Linked DNA regions of Homo sapiens: regions 1 and 2 are each linked to region 3. The links are contacts of gene promoters, found by promoter capture Hi-C in blood cells and fetal thymus (Javierre and others, 2016). All regions are on one chromosome and are shown on one strand. The core of a region is centred on a gene start or on the middle of the fragment in contact, and the rest is flanking DNA. Distances in the headings are between cores, read along the strand shown.

What was found. Contacts are between HindIII fragments. The CHiCAGO score rates a contact against its expected background, and 5 or more counts as called.
Region 1: the fragment with the promoter of MCCC2 here is called in contact with the fragment with the promoter of TNPO1 in region 3 in 5 of 17 cell types (total B cells, naive CD8 T cells, total CD4 T cells and 2 more); the score reaches 7.9 in total B cells.
Region 2: a contact is called between the fragment with the promoter of GFM2 here and the fragment with the promoter of TNPO1 in region 3, in 1 of 17 cell types (total B cells). The highest score is 5.6, in total B cells.

What each region holds. Positions count from the first base shown.
Region 1 is chr5:71,585,799-71,589,237 of GRCh38, forward strand. MCCC2 (methylcrotonyl-CoA carboxylase subunit 2) reads left to right here and starts at 1,542. Exons shown (of 17, transcript NM_022132.5): 1 at 1,542-1,756. The coding sequence starts at 1,628. RefSeq lists an enhancer at 1,201-1,987. The HindIII fragment of the contact is 6,273 bases long and covers 1-2,839 here.
Region 2 is chr5:74,765,110-74,768,423 of GRCh38, forward strand. GFM2 (GTP dependent ribosome recycling factor mitochondrial 2) reads right to left here and starts at 2,008. Exons shown (of 21, transcript NM_032380.5): 1 at 1,829-2,008. It overlaps NSA2 (NSA2 ribosome biogenesis factor), which reads left to right and starts at 2,140. Exons shown (of 6, transcript NM_014886.6): 1 at 2,140-2,254. The coding sequence starts at 2,252. RefSeq lists an enhancer at 1,721-2,160. The HindIII fragment of the contact is 3,173 bases long and covers 1-2,458 here.
Region 3 is chr5:72,815,304-72,818,420 of GRCh38, forward strand. It overlaps TNPO1 (transportin 1), which reads left to right and starts at 1,358. Exons shown (of 25, transcript NM_002270.4): 1 at 1,358-1,449. The coding sequence starts at 1,435. It overlaps TNPO1-DT (TNPO1 divergent transcript), which reads right to left and starts at 1,245. Exons shown (of 9, transcript NR_186518.1): 1 at 850-1,245. RefSeq lists enhancers at 925-1,004, 2,085-2,134 and silencers at 1,265-1,364, 1,405-1,624. The HindIII fragment of the contact is 3,194 bases long and covers 1-2,338 here.

The DNA.
Region 1 (3,439 bases), core at 292-2,791, 1.2 Mb before region 3:
GAACCTAAGTTTACCTCCAGGTGTAGACGCACCCTTTCTCTACCCCATCCTCCCCCTTTACTCTGCCCCACTAAGCAACCAATGGAGTAGAAGTAGTAAGTGCTCAATAAATATGTGAATGAAAAACCTTAAGTTCAAGGCATTTTGTATAGAATGTTTTAATTTTTATGGGTATATTTGGAGTCCTTTATTTAAGACCACAGTGCTGATGTCCACAATCTGTCACTACATAGTGCCTGGTGTGGTGGCTCATGTCTGTAATCCCAGCACTTTGGGAGGCTGTGGCGGGCAGATCGCTTGAGTCCAGGAGTTCAAGACCAGCATAGCCAACATGGTGAAACCCCTACAAAAATAAAAAATTAGCCGGGCTTGGTGGCACAAACCTGTAGTCTCAGCTACTGGAAAGGCTGAGGTGGGAGGTCAAGGATTCAGCGAGCTGTGATCGTGCCACTGCATTGCAGCCTGGGCGACAGAGTGAGGCCCTGTCTCAAAAAATGAAATAAAGTAAAAAATAAAAATAACTACATAGCGAAAATAATCAGAAGAATGTTTAAGGTCTCCAGTGAAAGGACAACAGGCTTGTTGTGCTGTTCGCAAGCACGTGTTAGATGCGATTCACTCATGTTGTTGGTGTGTCACTGGGGGTTGTGACTGCAAGTTGTCCAGGTTCTTGGCATTGTGAACAAAGAATTGGACAAAACGCCCAGCAAAGCAAAGAAAGAACAAGGCAACGAAAGAACGAAAGCAGGGATTTACCGAAAACGAAAGTGCACTCCACAATGTGGGAGCGGACCGAGCAGAGCTCAAGGGCCCGGATATAGAATCTTCTTGGGTCCAAATACCCACTAGAAGTTTCCTATTGGCCATTTTATGCTCACCTCAAACCCGATTGGTTGCAAGAAGCAAGCAGTCAGAGGCTAGGGTGAAATTACAAAGTTATACTTCTATGCAAACGAAGACTGGACCCCCAATCAGTCTGATTGGTTGTGGACAGCAACCATTCAGAGGCTGGAGTTAAGGTTCAAACTTGGCAAAGCAAGCCTCCACCAGCAGTAAGTCTGATTTGTCGGGGACAGCCAATTTCCTATCTGCCCTGCGGAAAAGGTGGGGGGGTTTGCAAAGGGAGTAGCCTTTGGTCCTTTTGTTACTTAGGCATGGAAAGTTAGGGTTTTCCTTTCAGTTTAGCTCTAGGAAGTCAGCGTGAGACAGCCTTAGGTTCCCTGCTTCCAGACTTATTCTCCTGCCTTAGGTACAGTCACTATCGTGATATTATCTATCGCTGTGTCAACACAACACCAATCCAAGCCCAACCGCAGCTCTCTCACTGCCGCACCGCTTCGTGAGGGTCGATCCGCCGGGGAGACCTGCTCTCCTGCGCTCGGGACTAGACGCGACCTCGCGGGGCTGAGGCTCTGTCCCTTATTGGCTGGGTCAGGGGGCGTGGCGCGGCTTGACCAATCGCGGGCGGCGCGCTTAGGCACGTGTGTGGACAGGCCTGAGAATCAGAGAAACCTTCTCTGGGGCTGCAAGGACCTGAGCTCAGCTTCCGCCCCAGCCAGGGAAGCGGCAGGGGAAAGCACCGGCTCCAGGCCAGCGTGGGCCGCTCTCTCGCTCGGTGCCCGCCGCCATGTGGGCCGTCCTGAGGTTAGCCCTGCGGCCGTGTGCCCGCGCCTCTCCCGCCGGGCCGCGCGCCTATCACGGGGACTCGGTGGCCTCGCTGGGCACCCAGCCGGACTTGGGCTCTGCCCTCTACCAGGTAGGCTGAGCGCCCCGGTGGCCTGGCCGCCGGTGCCAGGCTAGGAAGCAAGTGGAGGAGGGGCACGCTTCAACAACTGCTGCTCTCTTGTCCGGAGCCCCAGTTGATTCTGTGACGCACGTGAAGTTTGAAGAAGAAAAGCCTAACAGATACAAGAAAGTTTAGTTCACTTTTAGAGCTGGCACTGTACTTTGTGTCTTTGAAATCAGTGGTTCTTAAAGCCTGGTTTAGAATTGCCACCTGGGGAGCTAGCTGAATAGCTGCCTGAGCCCTACTCTGGACCTTGTGGGTCTCAGGTGGAGTCGCTGTGTTTATATTGTTAGTGAACTCATTAGGGGACTTTTGGCAGCCAGCTTTGGGAACCACTGGCCTAGAGCAGCCCAACGAGGGGCGCTGTGCTTAGGAAATTTGAGTTTAAAAGTTGATTATGATGGCCGAGCCCAGTGGCTCACGCCTGTAATCCCAGCGCTTTGGGAGGCCCTGGCGGGTGGATTACCTGAGATCAGGAGTTCGAGAACAGCCTGGCCAACGTGGTGAAACCCCATCTCTACTAAGAATACAAAAATTAGCCGGGCATGGTGGCGCGCGCCTGTAATCCCAGCTACCTGGGAGGCTGAGGCAGGGGAATCGCTTGAACTTGGGAGGCGGAGGTTGCAGTGAGCTGAGATCGTGCCATTGCACTCCAGCCTTGGCAACAAGAGCGAACTCTGTCTCAAAAAAAAAAAAAAAAAAAAGTTGGTTATGTTAATAGAAAATATCCCACAGTATCTTTGAGTGGCTTTTCTTGGAATTAGGAGGCATCATAAGGCCAAAAAACTCAAAACTTGCGAAATATCAGAGCTGGAAAATTTCACTGTGTTCCCACGATTTCTAAGCCTATACAGATAACATCTAAATAGTGCAAACAACACACAATTGTTTGTCAGTCCAGAATGTTTAATTCAGAATTATTAAGTGGTTATTGTGGTCTAGGCACTATTTTAGATATTTGGCATGGATGCGTAGGAATGGAACTAATAATTTTGTAGGGAAGATGGACAAGAAAGCAGGTAACTGTGGTACAGTGTAAGAAGGGTTGTCTAAAGCTTGAGAAGGTGGTTACAGAAAGCTACCGATAGGAAGTAATGGGTGAGATGAATCTTGGGTAAGAGCTGGCCAAGTTCAGGGTGCAGGATGGAAGGTAAGACTGTATAAACCAAGAGAGTTACAAGAACATAGGTACTGAGTTATGAAAGTGTATATCTGGTGTGAGGACTTGAATTCCATGTCTAGGACATGGAATTCATTGAATAGTGTCTGGTGATGGGATTGATTGATTATGGGGCCAGATAGAGGAGGATCTTCCATGCAAAAGCCACATTTAGATTCCATTTGGCAGGTTGTCCATTAAAATATTTAAGTAGATAAGTGGCATGATCCTATGGATATGGTAGAATCATCAGTGTGGTGGCAATGTGGAGGATGGATTGATATAGGGAAAAGACTAGACCTAGGTGACAGTGGAGAGTTGAGTCTTGAGATGAAGGAGTCAAAGTTAGAGTTGTATGTAGGAGGGGGGCATAAATACCTGAGGAGCAAAGATTATAGAGTTAATAACTGAGTGGAAGGGGAAAATGGATGACTTTGGAGTTTCCAACTGGGCAGAATATTTAGTTAGGTGGAACTGCCATTAATACAAAGAAG
Region 2 (3,314 bases), core at 758-3,257, 2.0 Mb after region 3:
TAACGCCAAAGTTCAGGGCCTCATAGTCTCTCCACAGTTGTGACTGTAATAGACATTTTCCTCTTCTTTAACTCAGTGGTTGTCAATAAAAAGATAATTTGCACAACCCAGCCCTCCCCCGCCCAAGCCTATTCGTTCCCATTTATTCAACAAGAATTTACTGTGTGTCTGCCTACCCACTGCTTTCTAGATATCAGCGTTAATGCAGTGAACAAAAGACAACAATCTCTGCCCTCATACTGCCTCTACCGTAGTCAGGGGATACAGACAACAAACAAAAGTAACGAATACAATACATAGTCTCTCCCATGATGATAGGGTGCTGTAGAGAAGAATGAAGCAGGAAGGAGGAATTGGGACAGTTAGAACTGTAAGTAAAGAGATCAAGGAAGGCCTCATTCAAACAGTGACATTTAAGCAAAGACCTGAAGTAGATGAGGGAGGAAATTCGGGGGATTGAGGGACGGCGGGGAGGGGCGCATTAAAGGCAAAGAGATTATATAACGTACTGTACCTAAAATATACAAATGCTAGTTACTATTTCTGGTTTTAAAGAGAATGATGAGATCACCTTAGAAAATGGAGCCTTAAAAAACTGCTTCAAAGGCGGGGCTCGGTGGCTCACGCCTGTAATTCCAGCACTTTGGGAGGCCGAGGCAGGTGGATCACCTGAAGTCAGGAGTTCGAAACCAGCCCGACCAACATGGTGAAACCCCATCTCTACTAAAAATACAAAAATATTAGCTGGGTGTGGTGGCGAGCGCCTATAATTCCAGCTACTTGGGAGGCTGAACCTGGAGAATCGCTTGAACCCGGGAGGCAGAGGTTGCAGTGAGACGAGATGGCGCATTTGCACTCCAGCCTGTGCGACAAGATTGAAACTCCGTCTCAAAACAAAACAAAAACTGCCTCAAAGCCGGGCGCTGTGGCTCAAGCCTGTAATCCCAACACTTTGGGAGGCCGAGGCGGGTGGATCGCTCGTACCCGGGAGTTCGAGACCAGCCTGGGCAACACGGTGAAACCTCATCTCTACAAAAACTACAAAAATCAGCCAGGCTTCGTGGCGCGAGCCTGTAGCTCGCTACTTTTGAGGCTGAGGTCGGAGGATCGCTTGATCCCGGGAGGTCGAGGCTGCGGTGAGCCGAGCTCGTGCCCCTGCACTCCAGCCTGGGCGACTGGGCGAGATGCCGTCTCAAAATACCCATAAAAACAAAAACAAAAACAAAATACTGCCTCAAATACAAGCACTAAGAATTAATGAAAGTATTCTTTTGGTACAGTTCTTTTTGTTCATCAACTGAATCACGCTGCAAGCTGTGAAGTAATTAAGGGAACTTCTGCAACTGTGCAGTAAAAGGGTAAACCTGATAGTGTATTTAAGTAGACGTACTTTCTGGTAGTTAATTACTTCTTGACACTAGGGGGCCACTAAATACAAGTCCACTCAGCATTTGATTCGGTGCACCAAAATGCCTCAGAAATTTCTGGAATCAGTCCTGTACCTCCAAAAAACCAGAATGTTATCTTCTTCTTTTCTAACAGCTGCAAAGCCCCAGTAGTTCCATTTTTCTGTACACTAAGTTTTCATTCCTCAGTATCCTTCACAATCATGCACACATTACACAGAGTGACCGGAACAAAGATGAGTCGACTTCGCCGAATGATAGAGAAAAACTTCCATACTGAGCGAACACCGAGGGGAGTCCGGAGGCCCTGTTGTCCTCTTCCGTGGCTGGCTGTGTCCGTCGCAGCCTGAAAGGTCAGCGGTACCCAGCGCTGTGACAGGGTCACAGGCGCGCGATGTCTCACAGCTCGGAGCAGTACTCACCTGGCATTAGGCCGCGTGCCGCAGGCCAGCTCTCACCGCTGGGCTCTTGAAGCAGGAGGCGCGAGCCGCGCCAAAGTCTGCAACGGCCTCAAGTCTCGACGCCAGCCTAGGCAAAAGGCAATGTATCTAAACGAAAAGAAAATAGGCTTTCTCCGCTCTACCGCCTCGGGCAGCCACACCTCCACACTTCCGGCGGTGTACCGGCCAAATGCCGCCTGCCAGCAACTTCCGTCCTCCTAGCTAAAAGCGGAAAACAGAGGCTCGGAACCGCTGCGTGGTTCTTGCTCTTCACTCGGCCGTTTTAAAGGGTGACTCTTTCCTGTCCCGGCCTGCGTGGTGTGGGCTTGTGGGTCTTTGAGACCCGAAAATTGAGAGCGTTTTCGCACTCCAGCGGCTGCTCCTGGCGGCTCTGCGGCCGTCACCATGGTAAGGAGGATGCCTCGGACGCTCGCGACACACAGCGTCTGAGTTAGTGGGACCTGAGGACTCTGGGGCGCTGGGGTAGGGGGTGAGCGGTGGTAGGCGGAAATGAGAACTGCCAAGAGAAAAGGATGGTAGACCCGTGGGGTGGGCTCTGAGGAGTGGAAACAACTTCACATTCGAGACACAGACGGTATTTGCCAGAACACAAGCTTTGGAGCAAGATTTTACTCTGTCCTGTTTTCTTTTTTCTTTTTGATCCACCGCTAAGAGTCCTAAAAATTCCTGATTTCACCACAAGCGTGGTTATCAGCCCCAGAGCCTAATGGGAATATGGTTGTCCCTTGTACAGTCTTAGATGTCAGTCCCGCCCCCTTCATTTTACTGCTGAGGAAACTGAAGGCGTCCTTGCCAAAGACCAGACAGCTAATGAATTGCGAAGCCGGGCTTAACGGCCCAGATCTAACTGCCAGGTCCTTTCTCTTTGTGTTACGTCTCTATAATCTGCGTTTCTTTGCAAAATGGCATTCCATACACCCTTCATGTGATTGCTGCAAAGTTTATGTGATAGCAGTTGGTAGCAGCACACCTTGTTGGTTGTTACTTAACATTGCTCTCTGTGCTGGACTTGGCTTTGTATCATTTTTATTTTTGCAGCCTTAAAATACGAATAGACTCACGCCTGGCCGCGTGTTTAAAACGTGTCTAAAATGCAAAAAGCATCCCATACATTGCTGGTGAAAAGAAAAATAATGCACTTTTGGAAAACGGTCTGGCAGTAAACACACGTCCACATGAAGACTTGCATGCAGTTGTTTATTGCAGATTTATTCGTAATCACCCAAAACTGGGAACAACCCTGATACCTATCATCTGGTCAGCGGGTAAACAGTGGTGTATCCATACAATAGCATACTACTCAACAATAAAAAGGATTGAAGTTCCTATACCTGCAGCAAATTGGGTGAATCCCAAAAGCAAGAAACCAGATTCAAAAGGCTATGTACTACTGTTGATCCCTGTTTCATTCTGGGAAAGGCAAAACTGTAGGGATAGGTATCAAACT
Region 3 (3,117 bases), core at 108-2,607:
ACATTTTTTTCTTGGTAATCTACTCCTATTTGGGGGGGGGGGCTCTTTTTGATATACACTACTGTATCCAATTACTATCAAATTAATATTATAACATGTTGAAATCATGAATATTTTAGTTATCTATATTTTCCCTTGCTAAGTTCAATTTCCCAATGATTAAAAAATGGTACTTTTAGTCTCAAATTTTAAGTTAAATAAACTAGTTGTTCCTGCAAAATGACTGTAATTCAAATGAAAATTGTTAACACGTTTAGAAGAACAAATAAATTACCTTAGTAAAAATTTAGACATTTTCTAGTATTATGTACTGTAATTTTACCTAAACTATGACAGGAAGGCAACAACTGTCACACATTTTCAAAATATATACAGCACTTCCAGTAAGATAGTCGGAACTGCTGGTATTTCTACTCACACTGATCATGTGAGGAATATTATCACGGGCATCATCACCTTAGAAAATAAAAATCAGCTAGCTATGCAAATTTTAAGTATTTTTATACAGTAAATTTTACATATAAGAATAATCTGAGGGAAGGAAACTGATATTTATCTCATTACCCTTGTTGCAGTTGGGTATAAAAACGTCCACCACTCCCATTTTGAATCATTTGCCGTACAGAAAATACAGGACATTTTAATTTCTCATGATGGCAGGTTAGGGAGAGAAAGGCTTGTTATTTCTAAGAGCAAGAAACTACAGTTTTATAGGATTGAACACCTGGAGGCGTAAACATTTTATAAATCACTGAATTCTAATTACATAGTAGTTTATACGCCAGATACAACATACGTCAAAAGCCTATCTTGTTCTAAGCGGGCAGCCATCCACCGGCGTCTACCTACCGAAGCCATTTCTGCTTTTTACCAGCGACGCTGGAACAGTGTTATTGTGGGATATGTTCAGTGTTGAACAGGCTCCCAGGGCACGGCTGTTACTTTGGAGGTTATGCTGGGGTACAGAAGTTAGGCTGGGGCAGGGCCATCCACCTAGGAGGGCCCAGCACAGTCTGGGCAACCACACCGGCGGGCCGTTTTGCTCACAGCCCCACCGCGCCGGGCAGCGTCTGCAGCTGCTGCGTGCGAGACCCAGAGGCTCCGGTCAGCGCGCCGGCCGCAGGGAGTGCGAGCACTTGTGAGCCCCGCGCCGGGCCGGTGAAGTCTGGTGCTGCCGAGCCCGCTTAGAAAGCACGGCCGCGCGCTGTCGGACGCAGGCCCACAGGCCCAGCCGACCCAGGCAGCAATTTTCCTAGCCCCGCCGCCGTTGCCAAGGCGACCGCCGCCGAATGTTCCCGCCGCGGGCTCCGCCCCCCGGCCAATCGGACCGGCGCTCGGTGAAGCCCAGATTCTCTTTGTTCCGCAGCCATTTCAGGCCCCGGACAGGAGGCAGTGCCGCTTCGGCCGAAGGCCCGAGCGCCCGAGGCGTCTGGGATGGTGTGGGACCGGGTAGGTGGCGTGAGGGTGCGCGGCCCCGAACTGCAGGGGCGGGAACGGAGGCTGGGAGCGCCGAGCTGCCTGACGCGCCTACGGGAGAGACGCCGGGCTCGCCCGCTCTCTCGGCGCCTGCCCGGCCGTTTGAAGCCGAGAGGCAGCGGCGGCGCGGTTCTAACCCCAACAGCTGCCCGCCCAGGCGCCCTGCGGGACCCGGGTAGGGAGCAGGCGACGGCGGCTCCTCAAGCGTCCGAGGATCCCGTTAGGGGCGGCAGGAGCCCGTTACAAGGGGCGGGAAGGGAAGGGTCTTACATTCAGGGGAGCGTTTGCCTCGCCTGTTAAGCTGTGGCGTTTGAGGGCCCTTGAGTGCTGCAGTCGGCTGCCCCGGGACGGCTGCCTTTCACTGGTTCTGGGCGCTGGCCGGCGCTGCCCGAGATGGGCCAGTCTTTGTCCCGCCCTGGGCCCCTCTGCCCGGGTCTCCTGCGTCCGCACACAGCGCCCATCGTCCTTACATGCAGCTTGCCGTTCTCTTCCTCCCGGCGGTTCTTTCTCCTTGGGGCCTCTTGGCCTCACGACATGTTTACATAATGTTTGTGACTGTACGAGTTTTGCGTGGGCTTGTGGGTTTTGCCCTTCTACCTCCACTCCCATGCGTACAAGCAACAGGGAACAGCTGCTGAGGAGCAGATTGGCCACCACAATCAAGCTATTTTCGGAATGACTTTCTTTAAAAATGATCGCGTGTTGCTTACTGATTTTAAAAATCAACTGGATTTTGCAAGGATTGCTTAGAGTTTAAGTCTGTTATCTTAATCGCTAATCAGGATGGTCTATCAGTAGATGTAAATGTAGAAATTTGAAATTGGAGGCTATCTACAAATTGATTTTGACAGCTGTATTAAGAAGCTTAATAACTGTCCTTTGAAACAGTAATGACTTAAATGATGAATGTGTAAGTGGTACTTTTTTTACCCTAAAGAAAAGATACTTTTAAAATTGCAAGATGTATGGTGTAATAGGTGTTTGGAAATGAAGGTTGTAAAATGGCTGTCCTGACGTACTACTCACTTTTAGAATAACAAAAGTTCCTGCAGCTTTTTAAGTTTCCCTGTTATATCAAAGCTTTCATGTTAGAGTGGTGAAGAAGCTATGTTTAGTGGAAAAGGGGAAAGTTCCGTTTTTTGGGAAAGGATCTGTTTTCCACTTTCACCTTACCTGGCACCGTAGTTGTTCCTAGAGAAGGCTGTGCCAGGATGAAAATTAGCAACCACAAAAGGGAAACAATAGTTTGTAGGTGCAGATATCTTTTTTAGTCTCTAGCTATGCAGTGCATAAATTTATACTAGCTTGGCAGTACGATTTTTACTTCATGCAATTTAACGTGAGCCTAATGAAGTACTAGTGTTCTGTTTTCTTTTTCCTAAAAGGGGCCGCCACCCTTGATGTGGCTGCATCTTTCTCCTAGTCAGGAATTATTAAATTCCTCCCACTGAAATATCTATAAAAATCTTGTTTGCACTTCTACCTCAACTCTCAGTGGCTTTATTACCATTATATAATGTGAGCAGAATAAGATTTTTGTAAAAATACATGATTCTAGTTGTAAGCTTTTCCAATATCAACATTTCTTATTGTATTCATTGTTTTTATGACTGTAGTTTTGCTTATTTATAATTTTAAAGC